7 separate regions of the Homo sapiens genome follow, and regions 2, 3, 4, 5, 6 and 7 are each linked to region 1. Evidence: promoter capture Hi-C in 16 types of primary human blood cells and fetal thymus (Javierre and others, 2016). All regions are on one chromosome and are shown on one strand. The core of a region is centred on a gene start or on the middle of the fragment in contact, and the rest is flanking DNA. Distances in the headings are between cores, read along the strand shown. Region 1 holds the start of ALDH1L2 (aldehyde dehydrogenase 1 family member L2). Region 2 overlaps LOC105369947 (a long non-coding RNA gene). Region 3 has its middle 3.0 kb from the start of LINC02385. Region 4 overlaps TXNRD1 (thioredoxin reductase 1). Region 5 holds the start of TXNRD1-AS1 (TXNRD1 antisense RNA 1). Region 6 overlaps TXNRD1 (thioredoxin reductase 1). Region 7 overlaps TXNRD1 (thioredoxin reductase 1).

Evidence for each region. The method cuts DNA at HindIII sites, captures the fragments that hold promoters and counts their contacts. A CHiCAGO score of 5 or more calls a contact.
Region 2: a contact is called between a fragment that was not itself captured here and the fragment with the promoter of ALDH1L2 in region 1, in 5 of 17 cell types (naive CD8 T cells, monocytes, non-activated CD4 T cells and 2 more). The highest score is 7.9, in naive CD8 T cells.
Region 3: a contact is called between a fragment that was not itself captured here and the fragment with the promoter of ALDH1L2 in region 1, in 15 of 17 cell types (naive B cells, total CD8 T cells, total B cells and 12 more). The highest score is 11.5, in naive B cells.
Region 4: a fragment that was not itself captured here is called in contact with the fragment with the promoter of ALDH1L2 in region 1 in 1 of 17 cell types (activated CD4 T cells); the score reaches 5.0 in activated CD4 T cells.
Region 5: a contact is called between the fragment with the promoter of TXNRD1-AS1 here and the fragment with the promoter of ALDH1L2 in region 1, in 5 of 17 cell types (neutrophils, M1 macrophages, M0 macrophages and 2 more). The highest score is 6.2, in neutrophils.
Region 6: a fragment that was not itself captured here is called in contact with the fragment with the promoter of ALDH1L2 in region 1 in 1 of 17 cell types (total B cells); the score reaches 5.1 in total B cells.
Region 7: a contact is called between a fragment that was not itself captured here and the fragment with the promoter of ALDH1L2 in region 1, in 5 of 17 cell types (total B cells, naive B cells, neutrophils and 2 more). The highest score is 7.9, in total B cells.

Annotation. Positions count from the first base shown.
Region 1 is chr12:105,083,114-105,085,754 of GRCh38, reverse strand. It overlaps ALDH1L2 (aldehyde dehydrogenase 1 family member L2), which reads left to right and starts at 1,297. Exons shown (of 23, transcript NM_001034173.4): 1 at 1,297-1,366. The coding sequence starts at 1,319. RefSeq lists a silencer at 990-1,419 and enhancers at 1,920-2,159, 1,654-2,454. The HindIII fragment of the contact is 2,214 bases long and covers 108-2,321 here.
Region 2 is chr12:104,142,262-104,144,902 of GRCh38, reverse strand. The region is part of intron 1 of LOC105369947 (a long non-coding RNA gene); the gene reads right to left. Among named protein-coding and RNA genes, the nearest start is that of NFYB, 5.4 kb to the right of the region's middle. The HindIII fragment of the contact is 3,300 bases long and covers 1-2,641 here.
Region 3 is chr12:104,165,612-104,168,252 of GRCh38, reverse strand. No RefSeq gene overlaps it. Among named protein-coding and RNA genes, the nearest start is that of LINC02385, 3.0 kb to the left of the region's middle. The HindIII fragment of the contact is 2,041 bases long and covers 320-2,360 here.
Region 4 is chr12:104,238,521-104,241,161 of GRCh38, reverse strand. All of the region lies in intron 1 of TXNRD1 (thioredoxin reductase 1), which reads right to left. Among named protein-coding and RNA genes, the nearest start is that of TXNRD1, 24 kb to the right of the region's middle. The HindIII fragment of the contact is 7,102 bases long and covers 1-2,641 here.
Region 5 is chr12:104,279,524-104,282,164 of GRCh38, reverse strand. TXNRD1-AS1 (TXNRD1 antisense RNA 1) reads left to right here and starts at 1,322. Exons shown (of 2, transcript XR_007063431.1): 1 at 1,322-1,881. All of the region lies in intron 3 of TXNRD1 (thioredoxin reductase 1), which reads right to left. RefSeq lists a silencer at 1-94. The HindIII fragment of the contact is 3,745 bases long and covers 1-2,641 here.
Region 6 is chr12:104,298,494-104,301,134 of GRCh38, reverse strand. The region is part of intron 4 of TXNRD1 (thioredoxin reductase 1); the gene reads right to left. Among named protein-coding and RNA genes, the nearest start is that of EID3, 3.9 kb to the left of the region's middle. RefSeq lists an enhancer at 1-137. The HindIII fragment of the contact is 1,384 bases long and covers 633-2,016 here.
Region 7 is chr12:104,333,362-104,336,002 of GRCh38, reverse strand. TXNRD1 (thioredoxin reductase 1) reads right to left here. Exons shown (of 17, transcript NM_001093771.3): 15 at 1,671-1,766. Among named protein-coding and RNA genes, the nearest start is that of EID3, 31 kb to the right of the region's middle. The HindIII fragment of the contact is 3,413 bases long and covers 1-2,641 here.

The DNA.
Region 1 (2,641 bases), core at 48-2,547:
AGAGAAAAGAATCAGAAAAAAGCGCCTCCAGGAGGCAGCATGTAAGCGGTACCTTTCAGAAAAGAAACGGTCGTGCCAAGATAATTACAAGTGACAGATGACAAGCTTTTCTGGGAAACATTGTCCAAGAAGGAATAGGCAAGAACTGCAGTCAAGCAGAATTACATATGCAAAAGAGCAGTGAGAAATAAGAGAAAATGGCAAATTGCAGACGGCCCTGAATGCTGGGCTAAGAAGTCTGGCTTGAGATAAACGTCCAGCTAAAGCAGGTCTGAGCGTTTTTTCCAGAGAGGTGAGGGAGAAGGGCACGTATCTATTAGGTTGATGCAAAAGTAATTGCGGGTTTGCCATTATTTTCAGTGGCAAAAACCACAATTACTTTTGCACCAATTTATTTATTTATTTTTAAGACAGAGTCTCGCTCTGTTGTCCAGGCTGAAGTGCAGTGGCATGATCTCAGCTCCACTGCAACCTCCGCCTCCCCGGCTCAAGTGATCCTCGTGCTTCAGCCTCCCGAGTAGCTGGGACTGCAGGCATGCGACATCACGCCCGGCTAATTATTTTATTATTTTATTATTTTTTATTTTTAGTAGAGACGGGGTTTCACCATGGTGGCCAGGCTGGTCTCGAACTCCTGAGCTCAGGCCATCTTCCCTCCTCGGCCTCCCAAAGTGCTGGGATTACAGGCGGGAGCCACCGCGCCCGGCCTACCGTCCTACGAGGTAGGCATCAGGATCCCTCCACAGCGAAGGCGCCCCCACTACCTATCTGTCTACAGGCGTGCCTTTTACGGGCTGTGCTATGGACAGCACTTGGGATGTCAGATTGACCACTAATAAGGTAGATCCGTATACACTGCTGCGGGGCTGAGTAACTGGTAGAGGGTCCCACAGTTAGAAAGCACCTGGACCTTGGCTGGAATTGGCGGAAAGTCCAGGCAGCGGAGAGGCGCGGTCCCTGGGACTGGGTGCGCTCTTGGCACCAGGGTCAGGGCCCACAGGCTCCAGGAAGCCCACGCGCTCCGCCGGGTCGCACCAGGTTGGCTGTCCGAACGCAGCCAGCTGGCGGGGCGGGGCCTTCCAGCTGGGGGCGGGGTCTTGACAGCTAGGGGGCGGGGCCTTGCAGCTGGTAGGGTGGGGCGGGCCGCGGGCTGTGGGCTTTGGGAGGGGTGCGGACTAGCAGAGGCCGAGAGCGGCGAGCCGCGAGCCAGGCAGTCCGGGGCATCCAGACTGCAGGCCGCGCCCAGGCCGCGCCCAGGCTGCGCCGCCCGCCTGCCTCCCGCGCTGCCGCGTCGCCAGTGCTAGCGCTCCTCTCCAGCATGCTGCGGCGGGGCAGCCAGGCGCTCCGGCGCTTCTCCACTGGCCGGGTGAGTCCGGCCCGGGCGAGCGTCCCGGCTGTCACCCTGTCCTGGTTTCCAGACTCCGGGGCGGGAGGGCCGGGGCGGTGGGGCTGGGGATGAGCAGCGATGCTTAGACTTTGCTAAACACCAAGACAGCGTTTAAAACAAACAAACAAACAAACAAAAACAGAGAGACCTCAGAGGAGGGCTTGGGGAGGGTCCCGGATGGGAACTGGCACGCAGGCCATTGTCTTCTGCCGGGAGGGGGCTGAGGATGCAGTTTTTGGACGTGTCAAGTCTGGCTGGGATGGCAAGGTGGGAACAGTCACTTGGTAAGGAGGACAGAGTCTGCTTCCTTTCCTTTTTCACTTCAATCATGAGATCCCTGGTCAAGAGCTGGAGCCATATGGAACCGAGACTGTCTCCTGGAGGAGGGGAGTATCAAGTCAATAGGGTCCTCGTTGGCGGCCTGGGAGGTGTAAGCGCTCGAGACTGGCACGCAGGGCCGGTTCAGATAATGGCACTCAAAGCTGATGGCTGCAAGCTCAGTATTCCTGAGCTGAGCTGCAGATGGCAAAATTTCTAGAATTGCCAGGCGCTGCAGAGGCAGCCACGCTGGAACACTATTCTACTGTAGCACAAGAACCGAGCTCTGGCCCAGCCCCGCGCCTTGGAATTGCATCAGCTCCTCCAGAAATGGAACCGAGAGAGGACACGTTGCACTGCGGTGCTGCCTTCAGCACCCAGGGGGCCTCGGGACTGTTTAGGGAAGAGAGAGAGAGAAAAAAAAAAAATAAAAACTGTCTTATGTATCGTATCTTTTATAGGAAGTACATAAAAGAATTTGCTTATCGATTCTTTTTCTCGGCCATGCCAAAGCCATATGTACATATGTATATATTCAGATGTAAAAAACTTGGAGGCAGAGAGAAGTCTTGAGTAGCACCAAAAACTGGCCCAAACTTGCATCAAAGGAAAAGCTTTCTGTATCCCAGACAACCCCAAATAATAAGAATTCGTTTTACTCTTTGCAACCAGTTCTAGTTACTTTGAGGTATAGTCACCTTTTATAAAACGAGGGGTGGGGGTGGGGAAGACCTGCTCTGCTAGGACTTTGGCCTGCTCTCCTGGACCCCTCATTAGCTTCCCCCACCACGTGGCACATGGGATCCCAGATGGATAGCACAGAAAGCAACGGGCTGTGCCCAATGCCTGAGCCTGTTTTGTTGGCCTCCTCTGTCAACACCTTTCACTGACTTGTCTTTTTTGGTGACCAGAAGGAAGTCTTGCAGAATGAAAAGA
Region 2 (2,641 bases), core at 77-2,576, 940 kb after region 1:
GGTCTCGAACTCCTGACCTCAAGTGATCTGCCTGCCTCAGCCTCCCAAAATGTTGGCATTACAGGTGTGAGCCATTGTGCCCGGCCCTCACAATTTTAGAACATTTTCATCACCTCACAGAGAAACTCTATACCTTTTAGCTATCACACCTCGGGCTCTCCCATCTCCTCCCTTAGCCCCCCACCAAAGAATAATCTGCCTTCTCTCTCTATGGATTTGACTATTCTAGATATTTAATATAAATGAAATCATATAATCTGTGGTCCTTTGTGTCTGACTCCTTTTACTTAGATAATGATTTCAAGGTTAATCCATGTTGTAGCATATATTAGAGCTTCATTTGTTTTTATGGCCAAATGATATTCCATTGCATTGATATATCATATTTGCCCAGCTACTTGGGAGGCTGAGGCAGGTGAATCACTTGAAGCTGTGAGGTGGAGGTTGCAGTGAGCTGAGACCGTGCCATTGCACTTCAGCCTAGGCAACAAGAGCGAAACTCTGTCTCGAAATAAATAAATAAATAAAAATAAAAGAAGAAAGCTGCCATAAATGTATATGTTTTTGTATGGATATATATTTTCATTTATCTTGGGCATACACCAGGAGTGGAATTGCTGGGTCAAATGGTAACTTTTATGTTTAGCTATTTGAGGAACAACCAGACTGTTTTCCACAGTGGCTGTACCACTTTACATTCCCACCAGCAGTGTGTGAAGGTTCCAGTTTCACCATATCCTTGACAACACTTGTTACTATCGATCTTTCTGATTCTGGCCATCTAGGTGGGTGTGCAGTGATATCTCACTGTGGTTTGATTTGAATTTCCCTTATGACTAATGATGTTGAACATCTTGGCATATGCTTGTTGGCCATCTGTGTATCTTCTTTAGAGAAAAGTCTATGGGGACCCTTTGAATAAATAGTTTTTTTTTTTTTTTATAAGAGGGACTGGGGCCAGGTTTGAGGCTTGGTTTCCAGCTGTGTGACTTCTTGGTTTCTTAAACTATGAGCTTGTTTTCATGTCTTTTGAGTTGGGCAAATAACACCTATTTCATAAGGTCATTGTGTGGCTGAAATGAGAAAACATGCAGGTAGCATTTAGCAGAGTTCCTGATATGTAGTAACTATATAATAGATGAGAGCTGTTTTCATGATTTTTTTAAAAGGTAACAACACAATAAGAACTATGTTTTCTATGACCTGGCATTCATATGTAGGATTAAGAAAACAAGTTTTCAGGAAGATTAATATGGCCATGTTATATTAAATGGACAGGGACACCAGTTTGGAAATGACCCAAGAGTTTAAGCAAAAAAATAAAGGAAATGAGAAAAGAATGTTCTCTGCCCTTCTTTCCTATCAGAGACAAGGATTTCCTCCTGTCCTCAGCCTCAGCAGCCCTAGAAACGAGAGTGATCTTGCTGCTTTTTCAAGCTGATCAAGGATTTTTTAGTCATCTTTGTATATTAACTTACCCAATACCTGGGGAAATAGTGATGAATATGTTTTGGATTTTTTGATTAACACATCATAATAATGTGAGGAATTTTAAATGTGTTCATTAACTGTGTTTCTGTGGAGGAAGATGGCACATAAGGCTTTGGTAATCTCAGGGTCATTTATATTATCAATTAAAACAATTTTATACCATACCTGTGCATGCATTCATTTAGTACATACTTATGAAGCCCCTACTATGTGCCAGGCACTGTTTTAGGCTCTGAGAATACAATGGTGAACACAAGGTCTTTGCACTAAAGGAGTTTATATTCTAAAAAGGTGAAACATTCAAAGTCCATTCATTCAACAAATATTGAGTACCAACTGAATGCTGGACACTATTTTAGATGTGTGGGATGCATTGGTAAACAAAACAAGCCAAATTCCTTGTCCTCATAGGGCTTACATTTTAGTGGGAAGAGACAGACAATAAATCATAAACATAACAAATAAGGAAACTATATAATATGTTAGAGGGTTATAGCTGAGTGGGGGTAGGGAGTTGGAATTGCAATTTTTAGATAAGTGATCAGGGCTGGCCCCATTAAGACATGGAAGGAGGTGAGGGAGTGAGCTATGTGGCTATCTGAGGGAGAATGTACTAGGCAGATGGAACAGCCAGTGCAGAGCCCCTGAGGCAGGAGCATTCCTGGCAGAAATAAGGACTGCAAGGAGTGCAATTAGCAAAGGAAAAGGTAGGAGGAGATGAGGGTAGAGGGGGAGCGGAAAGGGAATAGATCAAAGATCCCATAGGTTGTTGCCCAGTGAAGAGGCCACCATTCACGTCTGCAACAATTAAGTGCTGAACATATTTCTTGCTAACCAGAGGACAGCAGTACTTGTAAGACAGTGTCTCTGAACAAAGGAATCTGTGAATCTTATACAGTGTTTTGGGAAGCATGGGGTTCGGAGGTTGGGGAACTCTTAGAAGCTGGACTGTTTAGAGATGAGTTGAACTTTAGATGTGGAAGAAGGATTACTAGAGTGTGGCTGTTGCTGATTGGCTAATTTTCAGAAGCAAGTCACTGATCAGGAGATTGTTATTGATTGATTAAAACAGATTCTGGTTGTTTCTTGTCACTATGACCAAAGAACAATCAGTATCTTTTTGTTGCTCAATTTGGAATGAAGGAACTTG
Region 3 (2,641 bases), core at 91-2,590, 920 kb after region 1:
TGTGCATTAGGGAGCAGTTGTAAATACAGGTGAGCTTTGCTCACTTGCCTGCTGTACACCTCCTGCTGTGCTGCTCGGCTCCTGCTGTGCTTCTCGGTTCCTAACAGGCTGTGAACCAGTACTGGTCCATGGCCCAGTGGTTGGGGTCCCCTGCCCTAAGCTGTATTGGACTGAACAGACTCTTGAATTCCAGAGACCTCCAAGAACTCAGAGGCACTCCAGGAACCAATAGAGGCAATTCAACAAGTGGTACTTTATTCACTAAGGAAGGATGGAACCCATGCCAGCAGACCTAAGCCTTCAGAGTTGGTGATAAGCTTACATATGAGATCACAAAATCAAAATCCTTCAGGCTTGTTACCAGTAAAGATTTTTAAACATATGTTTTGGAGGAAAAACTGATTTGGAAGTTGACAGTTCATCTGCCCTTTTGATCTTTGTGTCAGTCTATGCTTATCTTTTTATTTCTTGGTACATTACAGAGTTCTCATTAAGTCACGCTTGGAATGCATGCTTACCCTGTGCTCACAGTTATCTTTAGGGAGGGTTTGTGGCTAGTAGTCCTCCCCAGCAGGTGAGGGCCCAGGGCAAAATACATTCTGTCCCTTCCTTCCAACTCTAAATGTTTAAGGCAAGATAAGTCATATTAAAATTACCACAAAGAACAGCCTCAAGTGGAAAATAAGACACACAATAAGATGACTTAGGAACATAAGGGAACCCAGTATCCTATAACCTGTCTGCCTCTGGTGTTGCAGGAATTTGTGGGCTGACTGTGTGTGAGTCTTTCCATTATTTTCTATTGCTCACTAACTGAGCTATTGTCACACCCAGTTGGTCACCACACAGAAGCTGGATCCAGAAATACCACTGGAGGCCGGGCATGGTGGCTCACGCCTGTAATCCCAGCACTTTGGGAGGCTGAGGCAGGTGGATCACCTGAGGTCAGGAGCTCGAGACCAGCCTGGCCAACATGGTGAAACCCCATCTCTACTAAAAATACAAAAATTAGCTGGGCGTGGTGACAGGTGCCTGTAATCACAGCTACTCGGGTGGGTGAGGCAGGAGAATTGCTTGAACCGGGAGGCAGAGGTTGCAGTGAGCCAAGATTGTGCCACTGCACTCACTCCAGCCTGGGTGACAAGAGTGAAACTCCATCTCAAAAAAAAAAAAAAAAAAAAGTCTCACTTTTGCTGTTCTTCGTGCCTGTAAGTCCATTCTTTGGGACTGGATGGGTGAGTGTCTTTCTCACAGGCAGAAACACAACTTGATATCACGGAGAAAGGAAACAAGAAGAAAATGAAGCCATGCTGTATTTTAGCTTGTGGATATTAATGTTGCTATTTGCATCATTTCCCACAGTTGTTTTGACATGAATAGTCCAGGAGCGTGCTAGGCAAGGGTTTTCTGAGCATGGTGGTGGTCGTACGGGGTGGTGGTGGGGATAAAGTGGAGAGAGAGAATATGACAGGTGTATAAACTGGCCTGAGCCACCATGTTGCACAGCTGCAGGGGGTGCTATTCACTATAGTCTAAGTGAATGGTGCTCCCTGGAGTCATGCACGGCATCATCTGAGCCTTGGAGGTTTAAGAGAATAAAGTAATCATCTCACTAGTCCAGCTGAGAAATGTCCTGGCCGACAGACAAGCAGTCCTCTCCCAGCAGCCTAAACCACTTTGTCTACTCAGTGGTTTTTCTCTCTACTCACACCACTTAATACTTCACTTCTGACACCAGATGTGTGTGGGTTTTTCTCCATACACCAAGGAATTCTCGTCAGGCACCAGCTTTGCATCCTATAATTCCATTCGATTCTGACACTATCTAGAGATAGCATCAGATCCCATGGGTTGAGGACCCAGTCCCATAAGACTGCTTTAGATGCCAGTTGCAAGCCCAAGGTTGTGATTAGTGCTTCCAGCCAATCAGCTATTGAGAAGGAACAGAGGTCCCTGCTAGGCACCCTCAAGCATGGAAATAAAGGCAAATCTTGAGTTCATTTAAGGGAAATCCTGGGAACCTAGCTAGCCCTGAGAAGTAAATGAGCAACTTAATAAGCAAAAAGGTAATAGTAGCTTAAAACAATAGCCAAGGAAGTTAGAGTCATGAGATGTTTGGTTCTCTATAGAAACTAAAGATAACATGTTAACAAATAGCCCTGAGTTGTTCTTTAGAAATCCAGACCCCTGCCAAATGGATCCACTGGCACACGGACCTCAGATAAGGGGAGAACACTGAGGACTGAACTCTGGCTGCCATTCTTTGTTCTAAATTTCTTCCTCAGGGGCCAGGAGGAAGTCACGCCCATGGGCCAGACCTAACATTGTTTTCTGATGACCCCAAGTCTTTAGATGAAGCTTTCCTTCCCTAACCAATTGCAAATCAGAAAATCTTTTAATTGACCCATGACCTGTAAGCCCTTGGTTGAGGATATCCTGCCTTTTTAGGCCAAACTGATGTTTAACCTCCAAGTATTGGTTTACAATTTTGCCTGTAACTTCTGCTTTCCTGAAATTTACCTGTACCTTTAAAAACCCTTGGCTTGCAGAGGTCAGATCTTGAGCATGAACTGCCAGATTCTCCTTGCATGGCACACTGCAAATAAATGCCCTCCTTTCTCTCACTGCAAAATCTCAGCAT
Region 4 (2,641 bases), core at 50-2,549, 840 kb after region 1:
AGGCTGAGGCAGGAGAATCACTTGAACCTGTGAGGCAGAGGTTGCAGTGAGCCGAGACCATGCCACTGCACTCCAGCCTGGGCGACAGAGTGAGACTCTGTCTCAAAAAAAGAAAAAAAAAAACTGGGCGCAGTGACTCATGCCTGTAATCCCAACACTTTGAGAGGCCGAGGCGGGCGGATCACGAAGTCAGGAGATCGAGACCATCCTGGCTAACACGGTGAAACCCCATCTCTACTAAAAATGCAAAAATTAGCCAGGCATGGTGGCGGGCGCCTGTAGTCCCAGCTACTCAGGAGGCTGAGGCAAGAGAATCGCTTGAACCCAGGAGGCAGAAGTTGCAGTGAGTCGAGATAGTGCCATTGCACTCCAGCCTGGGTGACAGAGCAACACTCCAAAAAAAAAAAAAAATTCCACAAAGATACCTTTTCTGGACAAAAAACATATACACAGAAGACAATGTAGGTGCTTTTTCTGATTGTAAAACCTGAATTACAGTCATTAAAATATAAAAGGAATCTGTGGACAATTACTAAACTGATCCTTCATATAAACACATACTATATACCAGTTGAGAACTCAATTAAGCTAAAAAGTTCTCTTGCCTATACTAGACCAATAACTCTCACAATTTCACTAAATATGCTTTATACATATATACAGAAAATATGTTCTTTTTTCATATTGTTACCTTAGTATTAAGAATATCCAGTAAGTGGAGTAATCCTAGTTCACTAAAATGTTCAGTCAATGTGACCAACAACAGGGCTTAAAAGAAACTACCTCAATCTTCCCAGTTGAGATCTCTCACAAAAAGCTGAGAAATAAGACATGTGGTTACACTGTATTTCAACAGATTTCTTTTAACCCCAAGGTTTAAGAGAAAACTGCAGAAAACAATGGTACTTAGACTCTCTCTGATTCAGTAACATTTTCTGTTTCTCACACACACCTACAAACAGGATATCTGGAGGAAAATAAAACTTAATAAAAGATACCCTACCAATCTATACAATCTTGTCCAGAAAATACAAGGGGAGGGGCCATTTTCAAACTTATTTTATGAGGTCAGTAGCATCCTGATACTCAAACTAGACAGAGACAGTACAAGAAAAGGAAACTGTAAATCAATATCCCTCATAAACAAAGATGCAAAATTCTTCAACAAAATAATGGCAAATTGAATCCAGCAATATATAAAAGGAATAATAATATTCCACGAGCTAGTGGGGTTTGTCCTGGGAATGCAAGGCTGGTTTAGACTGCTCATATTAACAGTATAAAAAATTCAATTATATGCCAACGAATTAGATAATCTACATGAAATGAACAAATTCCTAGAAAGACATGATTACCCAAACTGAGTCAAGAAGAAATGAGGCTGGGTGTGGTGGCTCATGCCTGTAATCCTAGCACTTTGGGAGGCCAAGGTGGGTGGATCACCTGAGGCTAGGAGTTGGAGACCAGCATGGCCAACAAGGTGAAACCCCTGACTCTACTAAAAATACAAAATTTAGCCAGGCATGGTGGCACATACCTGTAATCCCAGTTACTTGGGAGGCTGAGGCATGAGAATCACTTGAGTCTAGGGAAAAAAAAGGAATGAGAAGCTAAATAGACTTATAATCTTGAATAGACAAGAGATTGAATTAGCAATAAAAACTCTTGGCCAGGTGCAGTGGCTCACACGTGTAATCCCAGTACTTCGTGAGGCCGAGGCAGGAGGATCATCTGAGGTCAGGAGTTTGAGACCAGCCTGACCAATATGGTGAAACCCTGTCTCTACTAAAAAGACAAAAAATTAGCCGGTTGTAGTGGCACACGCCTGTAATCCCAGCTACCCAGGAGGCTGAGACAGAAGAATCGCTTGAACCCAGGAGGCAGAGGTTGCAGTGAGCCGAGATCGCGCCATTGTACTCCAGCCTGTGGAGCAAGAGCGAAACTCCGTCTCAAAAAAAAAAAAAAAATTCCCACAAAGAAAAGCCCAGGCTCAGATGATTGTTGCTGATAAATTCTCCCAAACGTCTAACACAGAATTATCAGCAATTTTTCACACTCTTTCCAAAAACAGAAGAGGAGGGGATACTTTCCAATTCATTCTATGAGATTGGTATTACCCTGATTCCAAAACCAGACAAGGGCATCACATGAAAAGGGTGTGGTGGCGGGCATCTGTAATCCCAGCTACTTGGGAGGCTGAGACAGGAGAATCACTTGAACCCGGGAGGCAAAGGTTGCAGTGAGCTGAGATCACACCATTGCACTCTAGCCTGGGCAACAGTGCAAGACTCTGTCGCAAAAAAAAAGAAAAGAAAACCACAGACCAATGCCCTTTGTAAATATAGACAAAAAAAATTATCCACAAAACATTAACAAACCAAATCCAGCAATATATAAAAATTTTATACACCACAACTGAGTGAAATTTATCCCAGGATAAACCTTGCACAGGTTGATTAAACATATGAGAATCAATCAATGCAATACATCATATTAATAGAATAAAGAATGAAAACCACACAGTTATTTCAACAGATACAAACATTTGACAGAGTCTAACACCCTTTCATGATAAAAAACACTCAACAAACTAGGAATAAAAGGAAACTTTTCTACCTGATAAAGGTCATCTATGAAAAAC
Region 5 (2,641 bases), core at 73-2,572, 800 kb after region 1:
CAATATGTAACAGCTCTCCTGTTTCTAAAACCTCTAACCTTCTCTTTGTTCTTCAGACATACTGAAGACCACCCTGTCTGCATATATGCCCCAAATTGCTATTCTTTCTTTCCAAATAAAAAATTTTAATTTAGAGACTTGTCTCACATTTTTATTCTGGCTTCAACATACTAAAGCCCTAAGCTAGGAGTCTGCTTGACTTATCCAAGAATCCACAAAGTAACCAGTATGTCTAAAGCCTAATGAGTGAGAAAAAAAGTGGTAGGAAGTGAGGTCAGAGGAATAGCCAGGGGTCACATCCATCATCAGGCCATAGTCAGGATTTTGGATTTCATTTTAAATGTGGTAAGATGCCAGAGTGTGAAGAGAAGAGAAGGAAATGATTGTTGTATGATAAAATAATTGCTCAGTTGTGTGGAAAATAGGCTAAGGAGGGCAGGGACTTAAAAGTGGAGATATGGCCGGGCTCGGTGGCTCATGTCTGTAATCCCAGCACTTCAGGAGGCTGAGGCGGGCGGATCACGAGGTCAGGAGATTGAGATGAGCCTGGCTAACACAGTGAAACCCCATCTCTACTAAAAATACAAAAAATTAACCGGGCGTGGTAGCAGGCGCCTGTAGTCCCAGCTACTGGGGAGGCTGAGGCAGGAGAATGGCGTGAACCCGGGAGGCGGAGTTTGCAGTGAGCCGAGATCCCACCACTGCACTCCAGCCCGGGCGACACAGTGAGACTCCATCTCAAAAAGAAAAAAAAAAAAAAAAAAAGTGGAGATATGGAGATATACAGACCTGCTAGGAAGTTACTGTCCTGGTCCAAGCTAGAGATGATAAAGGCTGATTAGTGAGGTTAAAAAATACATTTGAAGGTAAAGCTAATTGCACAGATATATGTTGTACAGTTGTACAGATGGATGGAATAAGAGATGTAAGAGAAAGAGAATCAATGATAACGCTAGATTTCTGGCTTTAGCAATGGGGTAAATAATAGCACTCTTCAATGAAAAGCAGGAACACCCAGAGAGGAGGAAGAAAGATGGGAGGTGGGGGAAAACAATAGTTTGGGACAAATCCATAGTATGGGTTAACAGATCTATTATTATCCAAATGGAGAGGTTGACTAAGCAGTTGGATATGTAAGTATGGAGTTCAAGGGAGAAGTCAAGGCTAGAAATAAACATTTGGTGTCAAACATAAAAGATATTTAATACCATGTGTATTAGTCACAGCTCTTCAGAGAAACAGAACCAATAGGATACATGTATATATAGAGAGATTTTTTTCTTTTCTTTTTTTTAAAGAATTGACTCACACAGTTGTGAGGGCTGATAAGTCTGAAAACTCCAAGGCTGGCTGATAGGCTGGAAATTCAAGCAGGCATTGATGTGGCAATCTTGAGACTAACGGTGGTCTGGGTGCAGAATTGCTTCCTCTTTGGGAAACCTCCATCTTTTCTCTAAGGTCTTCAACTAATTGGATGAAGCCCATCCACATTATGGAGGGTCACTAGCTTTACTCAAAGCCTACTGATTTCATTGTAAGTCACATCTAAAAAATACCTTCACAGCAACATCTATGCTTTTATCTGCCAAACAACTGGGCACCGTATGCTAGCCAAGTTGACACATAAAATTAACTGTCACTCCATGGGACTAGATGAAATTACCCAGGAGTTAATGTATTTAGAGAAATAAAGATGGCCCAGGACAGAGCCCTGGCACGCTCAAACTGCAAAAGGGGAAAAGAACCCAGCAATGGAGCCTAAGAAGGAGCTGGCAGGAGGTAGGAGGAAAACCAAGACTGTGTGGTGTCTCAGAAGCCAATGAAGAAGTGCTCCAAAAAGGAAGATCAACTATTTCAAGCACTGCCAAGAAATCCTATAAGGTAAGGGCTGAGTCATGGAGGTCACTTATGAAAATGGTGGTAGGTAAGAAATCCTAATTAGAAGAAGTTCAGCAAGAAACAGAAAATAAGGAAATGGAGGGAGTAAGTATAGGCAACTCTTAAAGGGGTTTTGCTATAAAAACAAAACAAAACAAAACAACAATAGGAAAGGAGCTAAAGAGGGATGTAGGATAGAGGAATTTTTTTTTTTTTTTTTTTTTGAGACAGAGTCTCACTCTGTCACCCAGGCTGGAGTGCAGAGGCACGATCTCAGCTCATTGCAACCTCTGCCTCCTGGGTTCAAGCAATTCTCCTGCCTCAGCCTCTCGAGTAGCTGGGACTACAGGTGCATGCCACCACACCCAGCTAATTTTTGTATTTTCAGTAGAGAGAGGGTTTCACCATGTTGGCCAGGCTGGTCTTCAACTCCTGACTTCGTGATCCACCCTCCTCGGCCTCCCAAAGTGCTGGGATTACAGGGGTGAGCCACCGTGCCTGGCCAGACTTTTTGGTTTTTTTGGTTTGTCTAAGAAGGAAATTATTACAGCATGTTTTTATGCTAAAGGAATAATCCAGTAGAGGGAACTTTGGCAATTTCCAAAGAAGGAGCAAAAAGAGATAATTGCAGAACCAAAGTCTGTTGAATATACCCTTATTATGCAGTGTAGACTTTGAAGTCAAATCCAGGTTCTATTACTAACTGCAAAGCCAAGTTACTAAGCCTCTCTGCTTCTTCATCTTCTTTCTACAAGGCCCTTTG
Region 6 (2,641 bases), core at 75-2,574, 780 kb after region 1:
TTCTCAGGAGATAACAGCCCACACAACTTGCTCAGAGCAACAGAGCATATCGAGGCAAACATTAAGTTGTGATTTACAGTGCTGAATGCATTCTATGCTAGATCTCCAAGAACTTTATTAACATGTAACTTAGATCATCCTAAGAAAGGCAGACTTGCATTATGTTCCACCTTTAAAAATCTGCCTTTAGGCCAGGTGCGGTGGCTGACACCTGTAATCCCAGCACTTTGGGAGGCCGAGGTGGGTGGCTCACCTGAGGTCAGGAGTTTGAGACCAGCCTGATCAATATGGAGAAACCACGTCTCTACTAAAAATAGAAAATTAGCTGGGCGTGGTGGCACATGCCTGTAATCCCTGCTACTTCAACCTGGGAGGCAGAGGTTGCGGGTGAGACAAGATTGCACCATTGCACTCCAGCCTGGGCAACAAGAGCGAAACCCCGCCTCAAAAACAAAACAAAACAAAACAAATCTGCCTTTAGACATTGCTACAAAGTAAAACAATCTCAAGTTCAATAACTCTCCCCAATCATATAAAGAATGGGATTTCCATGCCGGTTAATCTTTAAGTCATTAAACAGTGATTTCCTAACCTAAGGTCCAAGTGCTACTAATAATTATTTAAATGAAGCTTAAAAAGAAGAAACTGCACTACTGATAAATTTGTCTGTGACCAGGAATAGAAAGCAAGAAGCGCACTGGTACTTCAAAGAAACCAGTGGCGTCTACCTTATTCCCGCAGTATAGACTAGTTCAGGCAACCATGAGACTGAGTTGCCTCAGAGATAATTTAGCTCCCCTCTTTCCCCTTTTTCCTCTTTCTTCGCTCAAGAGTTGCTACCCAGGGTTCAATACAGACCTCCATTTCCTTTCCTCTTTTCTTCACCCTTTTCTCCTATATTTTCAGTTCCTTTTCTAGGAGTTTAGGTTAATTCCAAGCATTCTTGAGCTCTTTCCCACAACCCATACTGCTCAACACAAACGTGATAGGGTGGATGACAAAGGTCACATGTCTCCCTGTAACCAAATAAAGGAAGAAGTCACGAGTCCACTATTTTTCTCCAGTGAGGTTTTGCTGTTAACACTTACCTATAACAAATGGATTTTTAAGAGACTTTTTGGAGCCAAAGCCAGGAATCAGTCAGGTTTGAGTCCCACACTCTAACATATACACTTATCCTAATAGCTACCTCCCTAAACTTTTCTGTTCCTTCTTTCATAGCAGCTTTTCTCCCTTCATACCACCATGGCTTCTGTTTAATATTGAGTTGTGAAGAAATGTGGTAAAATTCCTAGTTTGATTTGCCAGAATTAGCAGGACATTAGGTATAGTTTCTCTTTCATCTTAACTTTTTTTTTTTTTTTTTTGAGACGGAGTCTTGTTCTTGTCACCCAGGCTGGAGTGCAATGGCACGATCTCGGCTCACTGCAACCTACACCCCCCGGACTCAAGTGATTCTCCTGCCTCAGCCTCCCGAGTAGCTGGGATTACAGGCACGAGTCACCACGCCTGGCTAATTTTTGTATTCTTAGTAGAGACAGGGTTTCAGCATGTTGACCAGGCTGGTCTCGAACTCCTGACCTCGTGATCCGCCCGCCTCAGCCTCCCAAAATGCTGGGATTACATGCGTGAGCCACTGTGCCTGGCAGTTTCTCTTTCATCGTAATTTTCTTTAAAGTTATGTTTGTGTGTATATATTTTGTGTTTTGTTATTATTAAAGGTGAACTTTGCTATGATAAGACAGATATCTGTATTTTTTTTTTTAATGAAAATTAGTTTCTGAAAAGACCACAGACTGTGGGAGGGGACGATCTGGGTTCCAATCTTGACCTATTACCTATTAGTATTATCTTAGCCAGCTTGCTTAACCTCTCAGCCTCCAGTGTCTTTATTTATAAGACGGGAATACTACTGCAGTTGACCCTTGAAGGAAACAGCTTTGAATTGCACAGATCCACTTATACCAAAAGCAATAAAAAATACAGGTCTGCCTGCTCCTTAAAGAGGAAAAAGCTTGTGAGAAATAAAGAAATAAATACTGTATTTGTGAGATGTGATGTTTCACATCCGGTGAATACAGAGAGCTGACTTTCCATATATGCTGGTTCCACAGGGTGGACTTTGGGACTTGAGTATGTATGAATTTGGGTATACACAAGGGTCCTGGAACCAATCCCCTGAAGATACCGAGGGACAACTGTATTTATACCATATAATTACTACAGTGAATGAAAATTATGTAATATATCTGACAGTGTTTTCAACTACTGAGTAGGTACTTAATAAATCAAACAATCCCAAAGATAGCAAATGTAAAAAAAAAAACTGTATACAAACCAGTAGTTTCACTTCTGAATGTTGCTTTAGGAACAGAAAAAAATTTAATTTTTTTTATTTTTTATTTTTATTTTAGATAGAGTCTCGCTTGGTTGCCCAAGCTAGAGTGCAATGGTGTGATCTCAGCTCACTACAACCTCCGCCTCCCGGGTTCAAGTGATTCTCCTGACTCAGCCTCCCGAGTAGCTGGGATTACACGTGTGTGCCACCGCGCCCAGCTAAGTTTTGTATTTTTAGTAGAGATGGGGTTTCTCCATGTTGGCCAGGCTAGTCTCAAACTCCTCATCTCGTGATCCACCTGCC
Region 7 (2,641 bases), core at 37-2,536, 750 kb after region 1:
AACTATATATACAATTGTTATTTATGTTAGCTGTGTAGCTCATTATGGGTTATCCTAGTATATTCATTTGAATCTTTTTTGCAGAGGATTCAAGAAAATGTTTTCTAAAACCCTTGGTTTTACCAAAAAACCAACCTGTAACTGTCCTACTGCCTAAAGCAGTAGTTTCCAAATAGGATACATGGCTTAATTATATTCAAATTTCAAGATTAAAACATTATCAGTTTACTAGGCTTTTAACATACAGATTCTTTAACATCATTTATATTTTTACTGAGGTCGTTTCTTTAAAAAGTGTTAGCTAAGTTAAAAAGATCAGTTTTCTTAAGAGTCAATATTAAAGAGAGTGTGTGTATATGAATATACCAGTGTCCCACAGTCAAAAAACTTTAAAAAATATGAATTATCCAATCCCTCATTTCATATATATGGAAAAAAACCCTGTGAGGTATAGAGTTTGCTCACAGGCTTTCACAGGTTTCTGCTAAAAAAGTACTGTAATAGGCCGGGCGCGGTGGCTCACACCTGTAATCCCAGCACTTTGGGAGACCAAGGCAGACGGATCACCTGAGGTCAGGAGTTCGAGACCAGCCTGGCCAACATGGTGAAACCCCGTCTCTACTAAAAATACAGAATAGCTGGGCATGGTGGTGGGTGCCTGTAATCCCAGCTACTTGGGAGGCTGAGGCAGGAAAATCACTTGAACCTGGGAGGCGAAGGTTGCAGTGAACCAAGATCACGCCACTGCACTCCAGCCTGGGCAACAGAGCAAGACTCCGTCTCAAAAAAAAAAAAAAAAAAAGGACTGTAATATATTGCATATTGTACTCTTATTCACCTGGACAGTTGGGGGTTTATGGTATGAATAAAGTATATCTGTGGGAGGACTACTAAAAAGCACTTAAAATACATTAGATTTACACGTAATAACACCAGACTAGCATTACATGTAGCATCAGGCAATGAAATCTTAGAACTCAATTAAGAGCTCTTTCTTAGTAGTGCCAGCTGCTGAGGATCAAACGTGCATTGCTCCTGTTCTTTTTTGTTATTCATTATATTTAGATAGTCGATGACTTTATTGTTCCTCTTCTATAAACACAAACATAGACAGTTCTCAAGTTGTGCCTTTGGTTCCTTCACTCAGTAAGTTTTGGCTGCCTGTTGACTAAGTGTAGGGCCCTGTGCCAGTGAAGATGAGGGGGCAGCAGGCAGTGCAGCCAAGGTCCTTGCCAGCTGCTGATATCTATCAGCTGAGACAACTGGCACGCGAAATACTGAAGGAATGCCATCTGCACCATGTGACCAACTAAGCTATATATTAAAAACTAAAGCCGGGTATGGTGGCTCACGCCTGTACATTCCAGCACCTTGGGAGGCCGAGACAGGCAGATTACGAGGTCAGGTGTTCAAGACCAGCCTGGCCAACATGGTGAAACCCCCGTCTACAAAAATTAGCCAGTGTGGTGGCGCAAGTCTGTAATCCCAGTTAGTTGGGAGGCTGAGGCAGGAGAATCACTTGAACCCGGGAGGCGGAGGTTGCAGTGAGCAGAGATAGCGCCACTGCACTCCAGCCTGGGCAACAGAGCAAGACTCCATCTAAAAAAAAAACAACAACAAAAAACAACAACTAAATAAAATTACTGGAAAGGATTGAGAATTAAACTTACATTGTCTTTAGTATTACAGATTATTTTTGCATAACATTTGTTGTTATCTCTTGACGGAATCGTCCATTCCAATGGCCAAAAGTAACTATGGTAAACCTAAGAAGATACAAAAGCAAAATTTAGACCCATTATTTTAAACATTAAGTCTGTCAAACATATATGGTGAAAGACAGTAGAGACTCTTTAATAAGTAGACTTTCATTAAATAATAAAATTCATGGAATAAATAGGAATCTGGTCAAAAGGTAAATGACTTTCAACTCCTTGCTGTCAGGCACTTTTGCTATAAGCTCATCCCTTAATTATGTATATCTCTACCTCAAAATAGTACACCCTAACTAATAACAAAAAAGAGCAAGGGAATGACAGAAATAAGCCATTTAATTACCTGCTGTCATACATTGAAAACACACACACACCCAAACTCAATACTATCTTGTTATCCACTGTGAATGACAACTTGGGCAAGAAACAAATAAGGTGCCAGGATCAATTAAGGTAATTATCTAGTTCTCTTGCTAAATGCTTCCAAAAGACATTTCCTCCTTTGGCATTATTCACTAAAAGCAATGAAGGAAGGAGATAGGGAAGGAAAGAAGGAAGGAGATAGGGAAGGAAAGGAGGAAGGAAGGGTGGAACGACAGCATCCTTACTAATTTAATTGCTGGTTGACTAAATGGATTTTTTTTTTCCTCCAGCTGCTAGCCTCAGTTCAAAACATGATTCGCTACCTTTTACGAGCAAACTGATTATGAAGACATAACAAGTGTTCTTCGATGTTGTGATAAATAATATAATTTTAAAAATAAACATGGGTTACAAAATTTAATGTACAGTATCATAGTATCACAATTATATAGGAAAAAAATTAAAGGAATCACCCCAAATTGCTAACAATTGCTGTTACAGCTCTAACTCCATAAGTAATTGTTTCCTCTTTCCCTTACATTTTTCAAAGTTTCTTCAACTCA